Regions from separate parts of the Homo sapiens genome. Here region 1 is linked to region 2. The links are contacts of gene promoters, found by promoter capture Hi-C in human tissues and cell types (Jung and others, 2019). All regions are on one chromosome and are shown on one strand. Each heading gives the region's core, a stretch centred on a gene start or on the middle of the fragment in contact. The rest is flanking DNA. Distances are from core to core; before and after follow the strand shown.

Region 1 (4,537 bases), core at 958-3,457, 430 kb after region 2:
TATCTACCAAAATCAAAACAGAATGGCCTTACTCTTCTCAGGAAGAGGCTGGTAGGCAGGTGCATTATCAACAGGTCTGTGCCCATGCAGAGTGAGCAGGGAGAGGCTGGGCACTGTGGAATTTTTCTGTCTGAACTCGCTCATGGCCACAGAATGGTCACCCAGCTTATTTAGGTGTAGACAAGTATGACACAGTTCTAGAAAATACTGACTATAAAAATGTCTCTGTGTGTGTGTGTATGTATTTATATGTATATGTATATATTTTTAAAAGGCTCATCTTACTTGTAAACATGGACTGCTCAATCACTATTAAAAAGTCAGTTTAGGCTGGGCGCGGTGGCTCACGCCTGTAATCCCAGAACTTTGGGAGGCTGAGGTGGGTGGATCACTAGGTCAGGAGTTTGAGACCAGCCTGGCCAACATGGTGAAACCCCATCGCTACTAAAAAATACAAAAATTAGCCGGGCATGGTGGCGCTCACCTGTAATCCCAGCTACTCGGGAGGCTGAGGCAGGAGAGAATCGCTTGAACCGGGGAGGTGGAGGCTGCAGTGAGCCGAGATCGCACCACTGCACTCCAGCCTGGGCGATGGAGCAAGACTCCATCTCAAAAAAAAAAAAGTCAGTTTAGGCTGGGCGCAGTGGCTCACACCTGTAATCCCAGCACTTTAGGAGGCTGAGGGGGGTGATCACCTGAGGTCAGGAGTTTGAGACCAGCCTGGCCAACATGGTGAAATCCTGTCTCTACTAAAAATACAAAATTTAGCTGGGCATGGTAGCATGCCTGAAACCCCAGCTACTTGGGAGGCTGAGGCACTAGAATCACTTGAACCTAGGAGGTGGAGGTTGCAGTGAGTGGAGATCACGCCAACACATTCTAGCCTGAGGGACAGAGTGAGACTCTATCATCTCAAAAAAAAAAAAAAAAAAAAAAAAGGGAAGGTCAGTTTATACCCTTGGGCCTGATTTCCTGACTCTTGCTCACAAGATTGGGACTAGTCTCACAAAATACAGAGACTTGTACAGGTTGGCTTGTTCCTGAAACAAAAGCTTCTCATCCTCCCGAATGTAGCAGCTTTCTAAGGCACCAGAAATGATCAAGTCTCTTTTCTTTCACTGCTCTCAGAGCAAAAGTAAATCCCAAGGAGGCAAGCGTGATCCTACGCAGGGAAGTGTCAGTATGTGTTCTGAAAAGATCACTAGTGATGACCCGCGTTCTTAAGGCAGCGGCTCACAGAGCTCCTGTAGCAGACTACTCAGGCAAGCCTATGTTTGTTCGTCACTACAAGAGAGGCGATTTTAACCAAGCTGAGACTCCAAGAGCCTTTTGTGGTCCTAGAAGATTTTAAGGAATGTGAGTAAAGATGTGAATTCTGCACAGAGATTTGCAATAGGCATGACAATTCAGAATAAGGAGACAGAGAGGAAGTTCCCTAGCATCCCTCGCTGAACATTTCTGCCAATTCAGGCATGACTGAGATGGGCCATATTGATAGAGCATCCCAGGAGCATGCATGCCTCTGGTCCTTACATGGTGAGATGGAGAAGCCTGCCTGCTACTGAGACAGTGCCTTAGTGGGAGCACTGCCCCTCATCACCATCTACCTGCAGGCTGGAGGGCAGACTGAGAGGTTGGTGGCTGCCACGACACAGCCCTGCACACAGGGGCTGCTTGACACTCACAAGGGTCTAACACCTGTTCTAGGGACCTTGTTCAGTGACCACTCTCACTGGCAGGAAGTATTTCTTGCGTATAAATAAGAATTCCTGATGCAATTTCAACCAACTTTCACTCATTTGGTCCTTAGGAGGGAGAAGAAACAACTGGCTCATGCCCAGCTTCCTGGCACTGAATGGGCACACAGGCCTCAGGACAAACTTTCTTACTGGTTCTTCAATTAAGCACCTCCCCTTTTCCTTTTTACCCCAAATAAATGATCTGCACAAGGTACCTATTATTTTATACAGGTTCTTTGGCAAGGAACTACCTCCTAGATACTAATATCCACATTACCCCAATTCTGTAACTATAAGAGGTTGCAAGGCTTACTGCGATTACAATTAAGAATCTAATAATATTTTATAGTAGTTACAGACTTTTACCAAAATTAGTGAAACGGAACCTAGTGAGTGTCTGGATGTGGTAAACCCTGACAGAGTAGAATGGTCACATTTGTCCCCACGGTGTCTGACCTAGAGTGCTCTGGATCCTGGAAGCCTCGACTTCAGGTAAATAACCACCGCCTCTTGAGGGTGCAGAAGAACGCCCTTTAAGGCCAGTTGGGGCCATGAGAACCCAAAGGTAAAACAACTGGTTTATAGTTAGGCAGCATGCCAACAGAGGTTTTGAAGTTTATAATTAGTATTTTTAAGAACAACTGCTCTCCGCCACTGAGATATAAACTTCACTTGCCAGCCACGTCTCTGACAACCTGCCTATTGAAAGCCAGAAATGTAAAAGCTCACGCTGCGACCGACCCGCAGAGCCGATGTGGGAAATCACAAAACAACAGCCCCAGCCCTGCATGCAGGGCCCCACCGCAGCTTTGTTTTCTAAGCCAAATGTGCTCACTAGAGGGTTCCACGGATCTGCGGGAGAAAGAAGCCAGACCTGCACTCCATCCTTTTACAATTGGAAGCTCAATGGACACAAAACAATGATCAGGAGAAGTTTCCATAACAAAGCCTAATGGACATTGTTTCAGTGCCCAAGTGGCAGCTCCTCTCTGGCTCTAGGAGCTGATGCTCCAAGTCTTGGCCCAAACACTACTTCCGGCCGGGTGCGGCGGTTCACGCCTGTAATCCTAGCACTTTGGGAGGCCGAGACGAGTGGATCACTTGAGGTCAGGAGTTTGAGACCAGCGTGACCAACATGGTGAAACCCCGTCTCTACTAAAAATACAAAATATTAGTTGGGCATGGTGGCGCACATCTGTAATTGCAGCTACTCGGGAGGCTGAGGCAGGAGAATTGCTTGAACCCAGGAGGCAGAGGCTGCAGCGAGCCGAGATCACACCACTGCACTCCAGCCTGGGTGACAGAGCAAGACTCCGTCTCAAAAACAAAACAAAACAAATCAGTACTTCCATCTCGAAATGATTTCAGGTTGACTATCTGGGATGTTTTGACTGAAGCTCACAAGAGCGGTCTATATGTTACTCCAGATGGGAGCCTGAAGAATCAGCAGTTAAGGAAGCCCCAGCAGGCTCTCAGGAGGGAATCTTGTCTTCAGTTCCAGGTGATGGAAGAAGCCACGCCCAGCACTCAGCCAGCCCCGAGGGCCCTAGCTGTGGGAACAGGCTGAGCAGGTTGCTGGGAAACCCAGCTAAAGGTGCTCGGGCAAGCTCCTGCCCTGCACCTGCTGCCCTCCACAGAGCACACAATTGCTTTTCTTTTCTTTTTGAGATAGAGTCTCACTCTTTCACCTAGGCTGGAGTGCAGTGGCACAATCAGAGCTCACTGCAGCCTCGACCTCCCAGGCTCAGGTGATCCTCCCATCTCAGCGTCCCGAATAGCTGGGACTACAGGCACGTGACACCACACCCGGCTAATTTTTTCTTTTCTTTTTTTTTTTTTTTTTTGGTGGAGATGGGGTTTTGCTGTGTTGCCCAGGCTGGTCTCTAACTCCTGGGCTCAAGCAATCCTCCAGCCTCGGCCTCCCAAAGTGCTGGGATTACAGGTGTGAGCCACCGCACCCGGCCACTTGTTTCTTAATGAGTGTCTGCAACTGCTGGGGAGGTGCGGGTCTGCCGGCCAGAGCTGCAGGTAAGTGAGGGTCAAGCTGGTTCACAGAGTGCAGCAACTCAGCTCAGAGTCCTGAACACACAGCCCAGCCCTCTGAAACCATCCCCTCCAGCACAAGGAAGGCAGCATTCTGCAAACGCATCCATGGGAGCCTCAGGAAAATAAGTTTTAGACAAGTCACGTGTTCCTACCTTCCAGGCAGCAAAGTCAGTGCTACAGAAGCAAAGTAAGGGATCGCAGGCCTCTGGCTGGAGGGAGGCCACCAAGACTCCCTGGATTAGTATTCGGTGACTCTAATGCCATCAGGGTTTAGCTCGACACCTAAAGCCTACTCTGTAGGATTCGAAGCACACAGTACAACAAATATCCTATGGCTTTCCAAATACTAGAGCAGAGAATTAGTTGTTATAGATTAGAAAACAGGGAAAGGGACTCTGCCTCTCGTATGAGGCGAAGGTTTCCTTCTAAGCACACAGACTGAGCCGCCCAGTTACGGGTTCCTAATGCTCACAGGAGGAAACTCATTCTCATCATCAAGACACACTGGTCCCGTCGCAAACTCATGTTCAGGAATAACTTCTCCTCGCAGCGCCCCGCCGTCCTCAGAATAACCTGGAAACCAAGAAAGAGACATGAAACAAGCACTGGGGATCTGCTTTTATGCCATGACCTGGCGGGTGGGGAGCGGGGGCTCAAATAAAGGGCAAAGGAAGCAAAGGGGCTGTCTGTCTTCCCCCTGGAGGTACTGTGCCTAGGACAAGTCATAATCCTCACCATCTGCCATCTTTAAG
Region 2 (3,969 bases), core at 828-3,327:
TATTTACTCTAAGACTAAACATGTCTTACAACACTGGTTAGATAACAAACTTTTTTGCCCTTCCTTTAATATATACGTATATGTGTGTATGTGTGCGTGTGCGTGTGTGTGTGTGTGTGTGTGTGTATATATATATATATATATAAAACATATATAAACATCCGCCTCTTTGCTATTTACAGTTTGTTGAGAAAGTACCAAGAGCAAACCCCAGGGGGAAAGGTCTCATATTACAGGTTCTCCTAATTCTTTAAGCGCCCCTGACAACAGAACTATTTGGTTTTCCCATCCATGTTTACACTGTCATCCCGGTCTCTGCAGAATCGAGCATTTGTAAGTGGATTTTTATCTGGCTTCTTGGACACCACTTACTGGTAAACCACAGCTAAGGAAGGTTTTAAAAGCTTGGCTGGGAGGCAGAGAGGCCCCTGGTTAAGTATAAAAGCACACGTCGCTTACATTTTTTTCCCCATTAGATGATGGAGGAAAGACTCCTAAATGGTATGGCATGAAAACAAATTTTTAAAATTATTAATGATTTTCCCTAGTTCTGCAGACAGGTTGGTGAGTAAACCTCAGCCAGCTTGGGAGCTGGGCACCTTTCCATACCAGTTACACAATTTCACCTCCTTGCTTGCCTGGGTCCCAGTGCCCTCCAAACAGGCAAGAACTAGCCTTTATTTTTCTCTCCCCTTGCATTAAAGAGATGGATCTGCCCATTTGCAGCTCTGGCAACACTTCATTTAAAGTTGATCAGTCTTGCCAAATCGATAATCTGCTTTAAAATCAGCTTTCACCCAGCAATAATAGCTGGTTAGAGTTCATGTTTTTGCAAAGAGGTTGATTCTGACTCATTATGTTGTTAAACGGTTGTGCCATGCACAGCTGAATAAAGTTCTGGTGGATATCCAATTCCTGACTGTCAACTGTTGACCTCACAACTGCTTCCCCATTGATATAACCATCTGTTGTCATGGGAAAGATTGTCTGATATTTGGGTTAAATGCCACTGAAGTCATTCAATTTCCATGTGGAAAAATAACCCAGAGTAAATTGCCCTGTGAGGTACGGAAACTGTTTTTCCCAGAGATAGCGAAGCCGACAGAACATCCAAATAAAAGCAAAACAAAAACACGATCCCCCAGAGAACCCCTCATTTCTTCACGGGCTGAGTAACTTAATTTCATTTCGTGCATGAAGTATAAGAGTGTGTGCGTGTTAGTTAAACCCCGGCTCAGGTGTCCCAAGGTTGTGCGCTGGGGCTGCGGGGAGAGCAAAGTGCCCGGGGCTGCCGGATTTCGGCCCCGCTTCCCCCCAGCCCTCCACAGCGCCCCCCGCAGCCCCTGCTCACCCAGTCGAGGGGGGCGGACCCCGCGGCGTCCTGCGAGCCCGGCCCGGGCACGGCTCCCGAAAGGCGCGCCACGACCCCTTTTGACACTTTCCCTCCTCCGTGATGGAGCAACTACTTAACATGCAAAGTTTTCCCCAGCCTGCCCGGCTTGCTCGGGATCATTTCAGTAGCTAAATTGGCTTCTTTCCGAAAAGGCTGCCAAGAGACACGAAACCTTGGGGACACACTTTGCTCCTTTATAAGACGAACGCAGACCCGGGGTGTCCTCTCTTGCGAGCTCTGACCCCCCTCCTCGTCCCACGTTTCACTGAGCCTCCTTCCCAGCTCCCCCCCACAGATCCCCGCTCCGCTCCCAGGGCCCCGCACTACACCAATCTTACTTTTTCTCTCCGCCACCGGTGCTTCGGGGGATGATCCGACGATCAAACAGAGGAGCCAGAAAGCTCTAGCTGTCATTTTTGCAGACAGGGTTCCCAGGCTCTAAAAGTGAGCCTGGTCTTTTGCTTGCTTTCTCTCCCCCAACCCCTTCTCCACACCCCCACCCCCGTTCATGCTAATGAGGGGCAGCCTTTGGGGAAACGGGAATCACTCGCTGAGCAGACCATTGGAACAAAACCGAGCCGCAGGGATTTCTCCCTCTTCCTTCCTAAGGAGGACGAGCACATGGCCTTGCAAAGTTGTCCCCGGGAATGTCTGTCCTGTGATCTGCGGGCGAGGAGAGCATCACAGCCTAAACTTTAAACCTGTGTGCGTTTGCGCGCTGGGGTGGGGGCAGCAAAGGGTGGGGTGACAAGTGCAGAGAATAAGCGTGTTTCGGGACTGAGGGACTGGGTGGGGGAGAACGAGTGACGGGAGCTTTTTTCTAGATTAGGTCAACAACAAATAGGAAAATAGTGCTTAAGACAGCGTGGGTTTGTGGAAGGGAGATTCCAGATGACAGAGAATGTATCCTGGAATGTGTGTGTTAGGCAATTTCTAGAGAAACCAAGTCACTGCTTCCTTAGTAAAACTGTTTCATTATATATCACAGCTCATTGTAACCTCTGCCTCCCGGACTAAAGCGATTCTCGTGCCTCAGCCTCTCAAGTAGCTGGGATTACAGGCATATGCCACCATGCGAGGCTAATTTTTGTATTTTTAGCAGAGACGGGATTTCACCGTGTTGGCCAGGCTGGTCTCAAACTCCTGACCTCAAGTGATCCACCCACCTTGGCCTCCCAAAGTGCTGGGATTACAGCATGAGCCACCACGCCGGGCCCAGAGGTCTAATTATTAATCAGAATGTTGCCTGTTGAGGCCAGGCAGGGTGGTTCATGCCTGTAATCCCAGTACTTTGGGAGCCCGAGACAGGAGGATCTCTTGAGCTCAGGAGTTCAAGACCAGCCTGAGCAACATGGAGAGAACCTGTCTCTACAAAAAATACAAAAATTAGCCAGGCATGGTGGCTCGCATCTGTGGTCCCAGCCACTTGGGAGGCTGAGGTGGGAGGATCACTTGAGCCTAGGAGGTGGAGGTTGCAGTGAGCCGAGATTGTGCCACTGCACTCCAGCCTGGGTGACAGAGAGAGGCCCTGTCTCAAAAAAAAAAAAAAAAAAAAAAGAAGAAGAAGAAGAAGAAGAAAGAAAAGAAAGAGGAGGAGCCAGGCACAGTGGCTCACGCCTGTAATCCCAGCATTTTGGGAGGCCAAGGCAGGCGGATCACGAGGTCAGGAGTTCAAGACCAGCCTGGCCAAATTAGTGCAACCCTGTCTCTACTAAAATTACAAAAAAGTTAGCAGGGTGTGGTGGCACACACCTGTAGTCCCAGCTACTCAGGAGGCTGAGGCAGGAGAATCGCTTGAACCTGGGAGGCAAAGGTTGCAGTGAGCTGAGACTATGCCATTGCACTCCAGCCTGGGTGATAGAGTGAGACTTTTGTCTCAAAAAGAAAAAAAAAAAGAGGAGGAGGAGGAGAACGAAGAAGAAGAAGAAGGAGAGCAGGGCCAGGTGTGGTGGCTCACGCCTGTAATCCCAGCACTTTGGGAGGACAAGGTGGGTCGATCACGAGGCCAGGAGATCCAGACCATCCTGGCTGACACAGTGAAACCCCGTCTCTACTGAAAATACAAAAAATTAGCCGGGCGTGGTGGCGGGCGCCTGTAGTCCCAGCTACTCAGGAGGCTGAGGCAGGAGACTGGCGTGAACCTGGGAGGCGGAGCTTGCAGTGTGGCGCCACTGCCCTGCCCTCCAGCCTGGGTGACAGAGTGAGACTCTGTCTCAAAAAAAAAAAAAAAAAAAAAAAAGAAGGAGAGGAGGAAGAGGAGGAGGAGGAGGAAAGAAGTTTGCCTGTTGAGCATTAAATCAAAGAAAATAAATTTGCTGGCTGGGTGCGGTGGCTCAACCTGTAATCCCAACACTCTGGGAGGCCAAGGTGGGCAGATCACGAGGTCAGGAGTTCGAGACCAGCCTGGCCAACATAGTAAAACCCCATATCTACTAAAAATACAAAAATTAGCGAGTCATGGTGGCGGGCACCTGTAATCCCAGCTACTTGGGAGGCTGAGGGAGGAGAATCGCTTGAACCCAGGAGGCAGAAGTTGCAGTGAGCCAAGACTGCGCCACTACACTCCAGCCTGGGCA

The links. Contacts are between HindIII fragments. The study calls those that stand out against the background at their distance.
Region 1: a contact is called between a fragment that was not itself captured here and the fragment with the promoter of C17orf58 in region 2, in 1 of the 25 tissues and cell types used here (pancreas).

Annotation. Positions count from the first base shown.
Region 1 is chr17:68,421,818-68,426,354 of GRCh38, forward strand. It overlaps WIPI1 (WD repeat domain, phosphoinositide interacting 1), which reads right to left. Exons shown (of 13, transcript NM_017983.7): 12 at 4,258-4,358; 13 at 1-3. It overlaps MIR635 (microRNA 635), which reads right to left and starts at 2,731; the gene lies at 2,634-2,731. It also overlaps a transcript of ARSG not described here and a transcript of PRKAR1A not described here. The HindIII fragment of the contact is 3,571 bases long and covers 423-3,993 here.
Region 2 is chr17:67,994,392-67,998,360 of GRCh38, forward strand. It overlaps C17orf58 (chromosome 17 open reading frame 58), which reads right to left and starts at 2,078. Exons shown (of 4, transcript NM_001382359.1): 1 at 1,732-2,078. The coding sequence starts at 1,807. RefSeq lists a silencer at 1,308-1,397. The HindIII fragment of the contact is 9,773 bases long and covers 1-2,283 here.